Regions from separate parts of the Homo sapiens genome. Here regions 2, 3 and 4 are each linked to region 1. The links are contacts of gene promoters, found by promoter capture Hi-C in blood cells and fetal thymus (Javierre and others, 2016). All regions are on one chromosome and are shown on one strand. Each heading gives the region's core, a stretch centred on a gene start or on the middle of the fragment in contact. The rest is flanking DNA. Distances are from core to core; before and after follow the strand shown.

Evidence for each region. Contacts are between HindIII fragments. The CHiCAGO score rates a contact against its expected background, and 5 or more counts as called.
Region 2: a fragment that was not itself captured here is called in contact with the fragment with the promoter of RSPO2 in region 1 in 2 of 17 cell types (M2 macrophages and M0 macrophages); the score reaches 5.4 in M2 macrophages.
Region 3: a fragment that was not itself captured here is called in contact with the fragment with the promoter of RSPO2 in region 1 in 3 of 17 cell types (M0 macrophages, megakaryocytes and M2 macrophages); the score reaches 8.1 in M0 macrophages.
Region 4: a fragment that was not itself captured here is called in contact with the fragment with the promoter of RSPO2 in region 1 in 2 of 17 cell types (endothelial precursors and M2 macrophages); the score reaches 6.6 in endothelial precursors.

The regions. Positions count from the first base shown.
Region 1 is chr8:108,082,356-108,084,910 of GRCh38, reverse strand. RSPO2 (R-spondin 2) reads left to right here and starts at 1,291. Exons shown (of 6, transcript NM_178565.5): 1 at 1,291-1,714; 2 at 2,104-2,366. The coding sequence starts at 2,273. RefSeq lists a silencer at 2,260-2,435 and an enhancer at 2,152-2,555. The HindIII fragment of the contact is 4,613 bases long and covers 1-2,555 here.
Region 2 is chr8:108,723,982-108,726,536 of GRCh38, reverse strand. It overlaps a transcript of TMEM74 not described here. Among named protein-coding and RNA genes, the nearest start is that of TMEM74, 62 kb to the left of the region's middle. The HindIII fragment of the contact is 939 bases long and covers 808-1,746 here.
Region 3 is chr8:108,704,811-108,707,365 of GRCh38, reverse strand. It overlaps a transcript of TMEM74 not described here. Among named protein-coding and RNA genes, the nearest start is that of TMEM74, 82 kb to the left of the region's middle. The HindIII fragment of the contact is 8,157 bases long and covers 1-2,555 here.
Region 4 is chr8:108,682,915-108,685,469 of GRCh38, reverse strand. It overlaps a transcript of TMEM74 not described here. Among named protein-coding and RNA genes, the nearest start is that of TMEM74, 100 kb to the left of the region's middle. The HindIII fragment of the contact is 743 bases long and covers 905-1,647 here.

The sequences.
Region 1 (2,555 bases), core at 42-2,541:
AATTCTGTGATAAAAATCAAAGGCTCAAAAGTCAAGAAACAGATCCACTGTTTCTGCAATGTGTTTTGTGAACTCTATTTGTGCCCTGTGGGCCAGTCTCAGTGATGGATTTTCTTATCTATGAAATGGGACCAATGACCTCAACTCAGATTTACTTGGGTGTTCTCAGGCATGCATCAAAGGCATACTGCTGAAATTCTTAGCACATAAATACCACTATGTAATAGTGAGTCTGTAAAATAGTTATGAATAGGCAATAATGGAATAGTTAATAAATATGAGTATTGCAATATTCTTTTTATATGATTGTCTTTTAAGTCATCAAATTTCTGAACATCTTCTGAAACTGAAGGAATAGAAAAGGGAATTTAAATAGTATAAAATGCTATCATAATAATATGGTAACTGCGGGCATATCTATAGACATTCATACTGCCACGGTTAGTGGCATAAATTCTTATCTTTTGCTTAAGGAATAAATACATTTTTTCCTACAGTAGTGAATGCAGGACAGATTTCACCAGAATGAAATTGGATGGCATCAAGTCTATTTAATGTAACACTTTGTTAAACAGAATATTTTCCCCAAACCCAAAGCACCTAAAAGTTTAATTCAGGAGACTTTGGAAATGAGAGGAGGATTAAGAATGAAAAATACTTTAGTGGGAAGTGAACTTTTTAAAATTATTTTTAAAGAATCAAGGCCCCAACTTCTTCAGCACTTCAGGCAACGGATCACAGGTTTTTGTTTTATTGGAGAAGAAACAAAGTAAATAACAGTTCTGAGGATGAACAAAAGCTGTTGGGAATACCCATTTCACTCCTCAAAGTGGGGGCGCGTTTTATGAATAATTTCAGCCGGCTAACATACCTTCCTGCAAAACACAGACAAGATGTAAATTAAAAAGTGGCAGAGTTGTGGCATATTGCAAAAGTTTAAAGGGAGTCATCAGTCCTTCAGTCAGATCTCCCTGCAGAAAGGTTGGCGCTGAGGTTGGAACTGACCCTAGAGGGCTGGAGAGGACCCCTTGGGGGTGAGCAGCCGGGTTCTGGGACCCAGCAAGGTCAGGGGGCGTCTCCCCAGCTACTCTTTATCTATCCCCCGCACTCTGGAAAGCCCGAAGAGGATTCGCTCCAAGTTAGGCGCGCTGTTGGCTGTCAACGTTCTTTAGGACCTCAGGGAAACCGGGACGTTTCTGGCTTTAGGACCCAGGAACTCCGAGGCAGCCTAGACTTAGATGCCTTGGACCACAGCACCACCTACTTATAGAAGCATCCCAAGCCTCAGCCGGTCTGCATCTCCATCGGAAAGTGCGCTTGCCACATCCCTTCGGATCACTTCGTCCTCCCGAGAGCGTTCTGCCTTCTACAGCTCGGAAAGAAAGAAATCTTAGCTGTGAAGTGACCGTGGAGAAAGCGCAGGAAGCGACACAATTGGTTAGGGAGGCAGAGAGTGTGAGCGGGCGCACCCCTTGCCTGGGGACCGCGCTCGCGGGCGGGGACGGAGCATCCCAGTGGCTGCACCCGCCGCTCCGCGCTCCTGCCTGGCGTCGCCAACCCCGCGGCGGCCGCTGGAATTCCAGAGCTGCCAGGCGCTCCCAGCCGGTCTCGGCAAACTTTTCCCCAGCCCACGTGCTAACCAAGCGGCTCGCTTCCCGAGCCCGGGATGGAGCACCGCGCCTAGGGAGGCCGCGCCGCCCGAGACGTGCGCACGGTAGGCAACCCACACCAAGGCAGCCGCAGCTGCGGCGCTTGGGTACACCGCCGTGGACTCCAAATGGCCTAAGAGCGTTCTTTTAGCCCTGCGCTCTCAGTGCCTTTAGAGTTCTTTCCTTTCCCCGGAGCGCCGGCACAACGCATTATGCCGCTGGGTCGGAGCTTAGGGCTCGGCAGAGGTTGCTAATTCACTGATTATAATCACCTTCCTCTCCAACTCGTCCGCAGCTGCCCGCTCTGGATTAAGCCGCTCCGCGGCTCGTGCTAGGCAGTGGGTTCGCTTCCTCCTTCCCTCTCTTCTTTAAATTGGGACGTGCGAAGGCGCAGCTGCCTCCCCGGGGCTCTCTCCATCCCCCACACACCCTGTTTTCGCTTCTTGTCTCTCAGGTTCGTGGCGGAGAGATGCTGATCGCGCTGAACTGACCGGTGCGGCCCGGGGGTGAGTGGCGAGTCTCCCTCTGAGTCCTCCCCAGCAGCGCGGCCGGCGCCGGCTCTTTGGGCGAACCCTCCAGTTCCTAGACTTTGAGAGGCGTCTCTCCCCCGCCCGACCGCCCAGATGCAGTTTCGCCTTTTCTCCTTTGCCCTCATCATTCTGAACTGCATGGATTACAGCCACTGCCAAGGCAACCGATGGAGACGCAGTAAGCGAGGTGGGTCCCTCTCTGCCAAAGGTGCGTGGTGGGCTTCAGGGGTGGCGTGTGGAGGCGCTCACTCACGCCCTGGCTCCGGGGGCTCAGATGGTCAGGGCTGTGCTCTCCACCCCAGCTTTTGCGGGTCCCCAGTCCCCACCTTTAGGACCCTGGAGCTCTACAAAACACTCTGTTTTCTGTACCCTGGAG
Region 2 (2,555 bases), core at 28-2,527, 640 kb before region 1:
TGTTACACCGTACCTATTAACGTCTTATAAAACTGGCATTCCACAATTTCAAAAATGCTATATCAAATCATTCTTTAGTTTCTTCTATCTACAAAATGTATCATTTCACCAGGAAATATTTTGCAATCTTAAATTGCTTGTAGGGCGTTGTTAGTGCTATTTGACAATTGATTTACTATACTTTAAAAGAGGTCATGTGCTTTCCAAGTGACACATAAACTCATCAGGCAGAATTTTGCAGTAGATGAATTTTACCTTACCTGGACTCATTTATATGCTTTCCTCCTGCTTTCAATGCATTCTACAACATTCCCATTAGGTATAGAGGTTTTAGACTGGTTAGAGACCTTAGAGATGATGATATATAGTCTTACCATTTTAAGAATGAAGAAAACTAAGCAGAAAAGGGATTTTACCCCGGGTCTCACTAGTTGAGCCACAAGAAGCAGGCCCAATCAATATGGCCCGAAATGTCCATAATAAATCTGATAGTATATTGTGTATTACAATCCTTATTTACCCAGGTGCATTCTTCACCTAAGTTCTCACATGGTATACAAAAATTCTTTTCTGATCCCTTCCTTCATAAATATCCAACAATCTCACCCTGATTATGGCAATAATTACATATTAGTACTTCCTACAAAATGTTACATTATCCTTTGAGTAATTTATAGCACCTTAGATGTGAAAAATAAATCTCAAATTTCTGCAATAACACATATCCTGATTAATTAATATAATCTTTGCCCCTATAACATGTTTAAAGACATATTGCTTTCATTTTAGAAATAAAAACAGAAAGCTTCTCTTGACCCTACTTTCCTCTCATCTTTTCTTTCATTTCATTTTCAGCTAATCTCCTTGAGCAAGTTCCTATATTCTCTACATCTCCTTGATTCTAGCAGAAACTACATACCTGTCTTAGGATAGCTGAGTATTTTCACCATTTACATCTCAAGATGCATATACTTTCTATTAGTCTAATTTTCTAAACATTTAAGAGAACATAGCTGAGTATGTTCTTATCCCCAATGCCCAAAGAAATAATTTAAAAGAATATTAGGGGGAAGAAAACTAAAAAGAATGAGTAGTTGTGTTTCCTGTGGTGTATTTACCCATTCATTTGTTTAAGAAGTGGTTTTGAGCCCCTATTTTCCTTTTAGGGGTTCTGAGACACAGAGATGAACAAGGCATCTCTTATTAGGAATTATAACTTTCAGTGGAGAGAAACACAAAGATAAACAAATAGCAAGAAAAGTTTTGGTAGTGCTAAGAGCTATCATAAAGACAAAACAAGATGACATTCTTGAAAGATTTGAGGAACTATCTGGATTAGGCAACCAGAGAAGGTTAAGGAAGTGTCTTTAATGAGCGATCCAAATGGCAAGGTGGGGCAAGTCTTCTAAAGAGGTGAGGGAAAAACATTCCAGGGGAGATGGCTCGAAGTGGGCCTAAACATGGTGTCTTGAACTAAGAGAAGAAAGGAGAGTTTGGCTGTAGCTTGTGAATGAAGCAGAACACAGTGAGAAATGCCCAGGCTGGTTGGCAGAGGCCAGACTGTGCAGGGCCTAGAGGCTGAAGAAAAGAGGTTGTGTTTTATTCTAAGAGGATTGGGAAGCCATCAGAGAGTCCTAAGCAGGTAAATTATATGGTCTGATATCTTCCTTAAATAAGTCAAATCACTCTAGCTTCTGCATGGAGACTGACGCAGAAGCTAATAAATAAAGGAGATGGGAGGAAGCTTCAGCCATTGGAGTCTGCCCAGTGCACCCCAAAATATACCATGAAAGTGCACTTTCTCTCTGTACCTAAGATTTCCCTGGATATGCATAGTGAGGTGCTTTAGTCTAGGTATAAGCAATTTTAACTTGTTCTGCTTTTGCCTAAAATATCAATAAACTCATTTTAATAAATGAACTTGCTTATAATGAACATAATAATGAATCACTTTTTATTTCTGAAAGAAGGAAAAAATTTAATCATCTCTTAATTTTGTATATGTTGTTCTTTATGTACTTTAATTACCACCATTATCATCACTGGCATCATCCCACAGACTCAAAAATGATCATGGATACATCTGTATGGCACCATCTGTATCTAGCCATACAAAATCCAACTTGATTTCATAACATTTATGTAATAGCTATGATGTTCTGCACTCTGGGAGGTTCTGTTGATACTCAATTAAATAAGGGGACTGTCACTGTTCACACAAAATAAAGAGTTCAGTCATGAAGACAAGCCTATAAACCAGTAACTGGAATAGAATATGTGTTTTGGGAAACATGATGATGAAATAAATAGATTTACATGAAGTGCAGGAGGAGGGGGAAGATTGGGAAGGATTATTGAGAAAATAGGATAATTGAACTCTGCCAGCCTAAGTGGAGGTTTGGCAGCAAACAAGGGTGGAGACAGAGGAATCTTTACTAGAAGCAATCATCAAGCAAATAATGAAGACCTCGAAAGTACAGGGTGTGTGAAGGAAACAGCAAAGTTGGACTGTGGGGCTCAAACTCAGGATCATGCCTCATCATGTTAAAGAAATT
Region 3 (2,555 bases), core at 42-2,541, 620 kb before region 1:
TGGAAAGGGTGGGGATAAGGGATTTTTTTTTTTTATAGTTTAAGTTCTAGGGTACATGTGCACAACATGCAGGTTTGTTACATAGGTGTACATGTGCCATGTTGGTTTGCTGCACCCATTAACTCATCATTTACATTAGGTATTTTTCCTAATGCTATCCCTCCCCCTACCCCCCACCCCCCGACAGGCCCCGGTGTGTGATGTTCCCCGCCCTGTGTCCAAGTGTTCTCATTGTTCAGTTCCCACCTATGAGTGAGAACATGCGGTGTTTGGTTTTCTGTCCTTGTGATTGTTTGCTCAGAATGATGGTTTCCAGCTTCATCCGTGTCCCTGCAAAGGACATGAACTTGGGATGAGGGATTAAGTAAAGAGTATGAGGTACATGAGAAGGTAATACTTCAAGGCGGGAAAAGGAATGGCTGTCCAAAGCCTCTAGATCACTGTCATTCTCTATCCATCTACTGCCCCTGTGACTTTTTTATTTTGTACTTTTATCTTAGTGTCTTGGATATCACCAAAAATTTCAAATATTATTTTACATGCATGTGCTTGCATACACACACACACACACACACACACACACACACACCCCTTGTAATTCTAGAAGCTAATGTTAAACATAGGAGTTGGCTTGTCTGTCAGATTACTAAAGAGCAGAAACACTTGGAAAAAATATGGATAATCCTGTTTAAAGCTACTTATGAATAATGGAATGTAATAAACATCAGCTTTAAATAGAAGGATAATTATATAGAGAGATTTTTAAGTAATTTTCAAAAAGTAATAGGTCCAAAATAACCTATTAAGGGTCAATGATTCCCACCACCTTCAATGTGCAATTCAATTCAATAAACATTTACTGTACATTGACATTATTAAACCAAACCTCCAAGACTTAAAAGAGGTGATGAGCTATTTGTGTAGATATGCAGGGAAGAGCATTCCAGGTATTATAGATACATCATAAGTTCAAAGACCCTATGAGGAAGCATGCCTAGTATGTTTGAGTGTGTGTCATAGGTATAAAATCAGAGTACATCCTCCCATTTTGGTTTAAAGAATGAAAACTTAATTGCTTTACCACAGTAATTTGAATTTTTATAAATTAAATGGAACCATAAAACCTAAAACGTAGTTATTAGAAATATTTTTAAAACAGATACGTGTTGAGCTAATTCTTCTAGAAAAAAATAGCAAATATTTGGGATGCAATGCAATGCAAAAGAAAGATGAGACTGTGCTTAGCTGTGCCTCTGGTGTGCTTAGTAGATCAATGGTGGCTCTCAGCACCTGCGGCCATTGGCTGCCAACACAGTCCTCTGCCTACAGCCACCTGTTAATTTAGGCAACAGGATTCAGAATTCTCTGAAGTGGCTGGGGCTCTGCTGTTTGGAATTTTGATAGCAAAAGAATCCTTCCAAGAAATCAGAGTTGCTGTACTCCACAGAACATGAACATCCTCAGGCCATCCTGAATGACATTTGCAGCAGGTGTCTAATTAGAAACTGTAAGTTCTCTTGTGAGCATCTCTAATGAGAGTATCTGTGATTGTTGATACAACACTCTCACTGAACTCCTTCTTCCAAATATGGAGCATTAGATTTGGTATAATACAACTCATGTGTGTTATGTATATACTTTTTTTTTCATAAGACTCCTGCAGCCACCTTGTAAGGTACATAAAAGATGTACGAGCTCCATTTTACTGTTAAGATTTCTGGCCAGGGCATCTACATCTGCTTGAGGAGGTTATTCATTACAGAAAGAGACACAACTAAGGAGTAAGAGAAGGCTGAGATCCATCCCACATTCTGTTCATCAAGCCTAGTGCCAGCTGGGCTACACCCACAAAGACAGGGGAGCCTTTTCCTAATTTGTATATAAGAACCATATGGGCTAGAGGTAGCCCTGTGTCTGAGACTTGGGATTAAATGACTTGCCCAAGATCCATCCAGGAATTAACAACTCCTTTTTCTCTCCTAATCACATTTCTCTGAATTAAATCTGCATTCCACTACAACACACTAAAACAGACTTCAAGGCGTTGTTAACACAGATAAATAACCTTCCTTCTCAGAACATTTTGCAAGCATCAAGTTCGTTGACTTCCATCACACTTTTAGGTCTTTTTCCAGTTTTATGTTGTCTTTTTCTTTATTAGACACCCTATAGAGTCTGCTAATCACAAGCTGACACAGATACTCAGTAAAGAAAAGGGTTTTACAAACCGTGGGACTAATTTGGGCTGTATAAATATGTTAATATCAATTACAGAAGTAGATGAAAAGAAAATTCGATGCTATCATGATTTTACTAAAAGTGATGTTTCTAAGTGATTTGACATGTAAAATTTGCCCTCATACATTATATCGGATGTTTATATCCTTGAATTTCAGTGATCACTAAGCAGATATTTTTCACTTTGAGATTTACAAATCTCTGAGGCCTCTCAAGGGTTAAAGCATGGAACAGGCATGTTAGAAAACTTTGCTGACAGTTTGACACTTGTACTCCCCTTTATTTTACACATAATCCTCAGACACCTGGAAGGTAAG
Region 4 (2,555 bases), core at 27-2,526, 600 kb before region 1:
TGAGGAAGTCCTAGCCAGAATAGTTAGTCAAGAGAAAGAAATAAAGGGCATCCAAATTAGAAAAGAGAAAGTCAAATTATTCCTGTTTGCAGATGACTGATCTTACATATAGAAAAACTTAAATATTCTACCAAAACTTATTAGAATGGGTAAATAAACAAATTCAGTAAAGTTGCAGGATACAGAATTAACATACAAAAATCAGTAGTGTTTCCATACACGAATAATAAAGTAACTGAAAAAGAAATCAAGAAGGTAATCTCATTTACAATAGCTATGAAAAAACAAACAAAATACCTGGGAATAAGTTTAATCAAGGAAGTGAAAAATCTCTACAAGAAAAACTACAAAACACTCATCAAAGAAATGGGAGAGTATACAAACAAATAGAAAGACATCCCATGCTCATTAATTGGAAGAATTAATATTGTTAAAATGACAATACTACCTAAAGTAATCTGCAGATTCAATGTAATCCCTATCAAAATACCAATGACATTCTTCACAGACATAGAAAAAACTCCTAAAATTTTCATGAAACCATAAAAGACCCTGAATAGACAAAGCAATCTTGAGCAAAAAGAACAAAGCTGGAGGTATTCCACACCTAGATCGTAAAATATACTACAAAGCTGTAGTAACCATAACAGCATGGTACTGGCATAAATGACTAAAACTAGAATGAATTTAGAACCCCCCGCCTCTCACCTATACAAAAATCAACTCAAAATGGATCAAAGATACAATATAAGACCCAAAATGATAAAAAAAAAAAACTATTAGAAAAACATAGGGTAAATGCTTCAAGATATTGGTCTGGGAAAAGCTTTTATGAATAAGACCTTAAAAGCACAGGCCACAAAAGCAAAAATAAACAAATGGGATTATATCAAACTAAAAAGCTTCTGCACAACAAAGGAAACAGTCAGCAGAGTGAAACAATAACCTACAGACTGGGAGTAAACTACTTATCTGACAGGGCATTAATATCCAGAATATGCAAAGAACTCAAACATCTCAAAAGGAAAAAAAAAATGGGCAAAAAATCTGAAGAGATATTTCTCAAAAGAAGACATATAAATGGGTTCAAATCCATGAAAAAATGTTCAAGATCACTAATCATCAGAGAAATGCAAATCAAAACCACAATGAGGTACCATCTCACCCCACTTAGGATGGCTATTATCAGAAAAACAAAAAATATCAAATGCTGGCAAGGATGCAAAGGAAAGAGAATTCCTCTACACTGTTGGTGGGAATATAAGCTAGTGCAGCCACTATAAGGACCAGTATGAAGGTTCCTCAAGAAACTACAATTGGGACTACCATATGATCCAGCAACCCCATTGTTGGTAATTTATCCAAAGCAAAGGAAATCATTAAATTGAAGAAACATCTGCAGCCCATGTTTATCACAGTCATATTCACAATATCCAAGATATGGAATCAATCTAAGTGTCCAACAACAGGTGAATGGATAAATAAAATGTGGTGTATATATACACAATGGAATACTATTCAGACATAAAAAAGAATGAAATTCTGTCACTTGCAGCAGCATGGATGGAACTGAGATACATCATGTTAAGTGAAATAAACCAGCAAACGAAAGTTAAACATTGCATGTTCTCACTATATATGGAAGCTTAAAAAGTTGATATCATAGAAGTAAAGAGTAGAATAGAGGATACCAGAGACTGGGAAGGGTAGAGGGAGAATATGATAAATGTTTAATCATAATAAATGAGAAATTACAAAGAAATAAATGTTTGAGATGATGGATAGACTAATTTATCCTGGTCTGATCACTATACATTACATGTATCGAAATATCACTATGTACCCCATGAATATGTACAATGTTTATTTGGCAATTTAAAACAATACAATTTTTAAAAGAATGGATTGATTCATGAGTAATACCATTTTGTAATAACATAATTGTATAATGGTCTCTAATTTGTTAATTTAGTAAATTATATTAATAAATTTCCGAATGCTACATCATTCTTACACTTCTAGAATAAAACTTGTTTGATCATTTACATTATTGTCTGAAAAAAATGCTAATTTTAACTTGTAAATATTTAACTTATTTGTAATTATGTTTATAAATGATACTGAACTATAGTTTCCTCTTATTTTTTCTTTTATTTTCTGTTTTTTAACAGGATTATGCAGCTCAATTGAATTAATTTTAAAGTTTTTCAACACTTTTAATGCTTCAGAAAGTTTAACAGAGTAATTATCTGTTCCTTAAAGGTTGAATAGAACTGGCTTATAAATCATTTTGAGCTGATGTCGTTTATAAGAATAGACCTTCAGTATGGTTATTTATATATTCCACTTTTACCTCTTTCTGAGTCATTTAAAGTAATTTATACCTTCTTAGATAATCCTGCATTTGTTTTTTATTATTATTTTTGGCAAGTTATTTTTACCATCTGTCAAAATTTCTTTAATTCCATCCTTAGCTATATCTTTTTTCTTGCTTCATTTTCTTCAGTCTTTTCTTTATTCCTTAATACACTTACTAAAGAAAACAAAGGCTAACT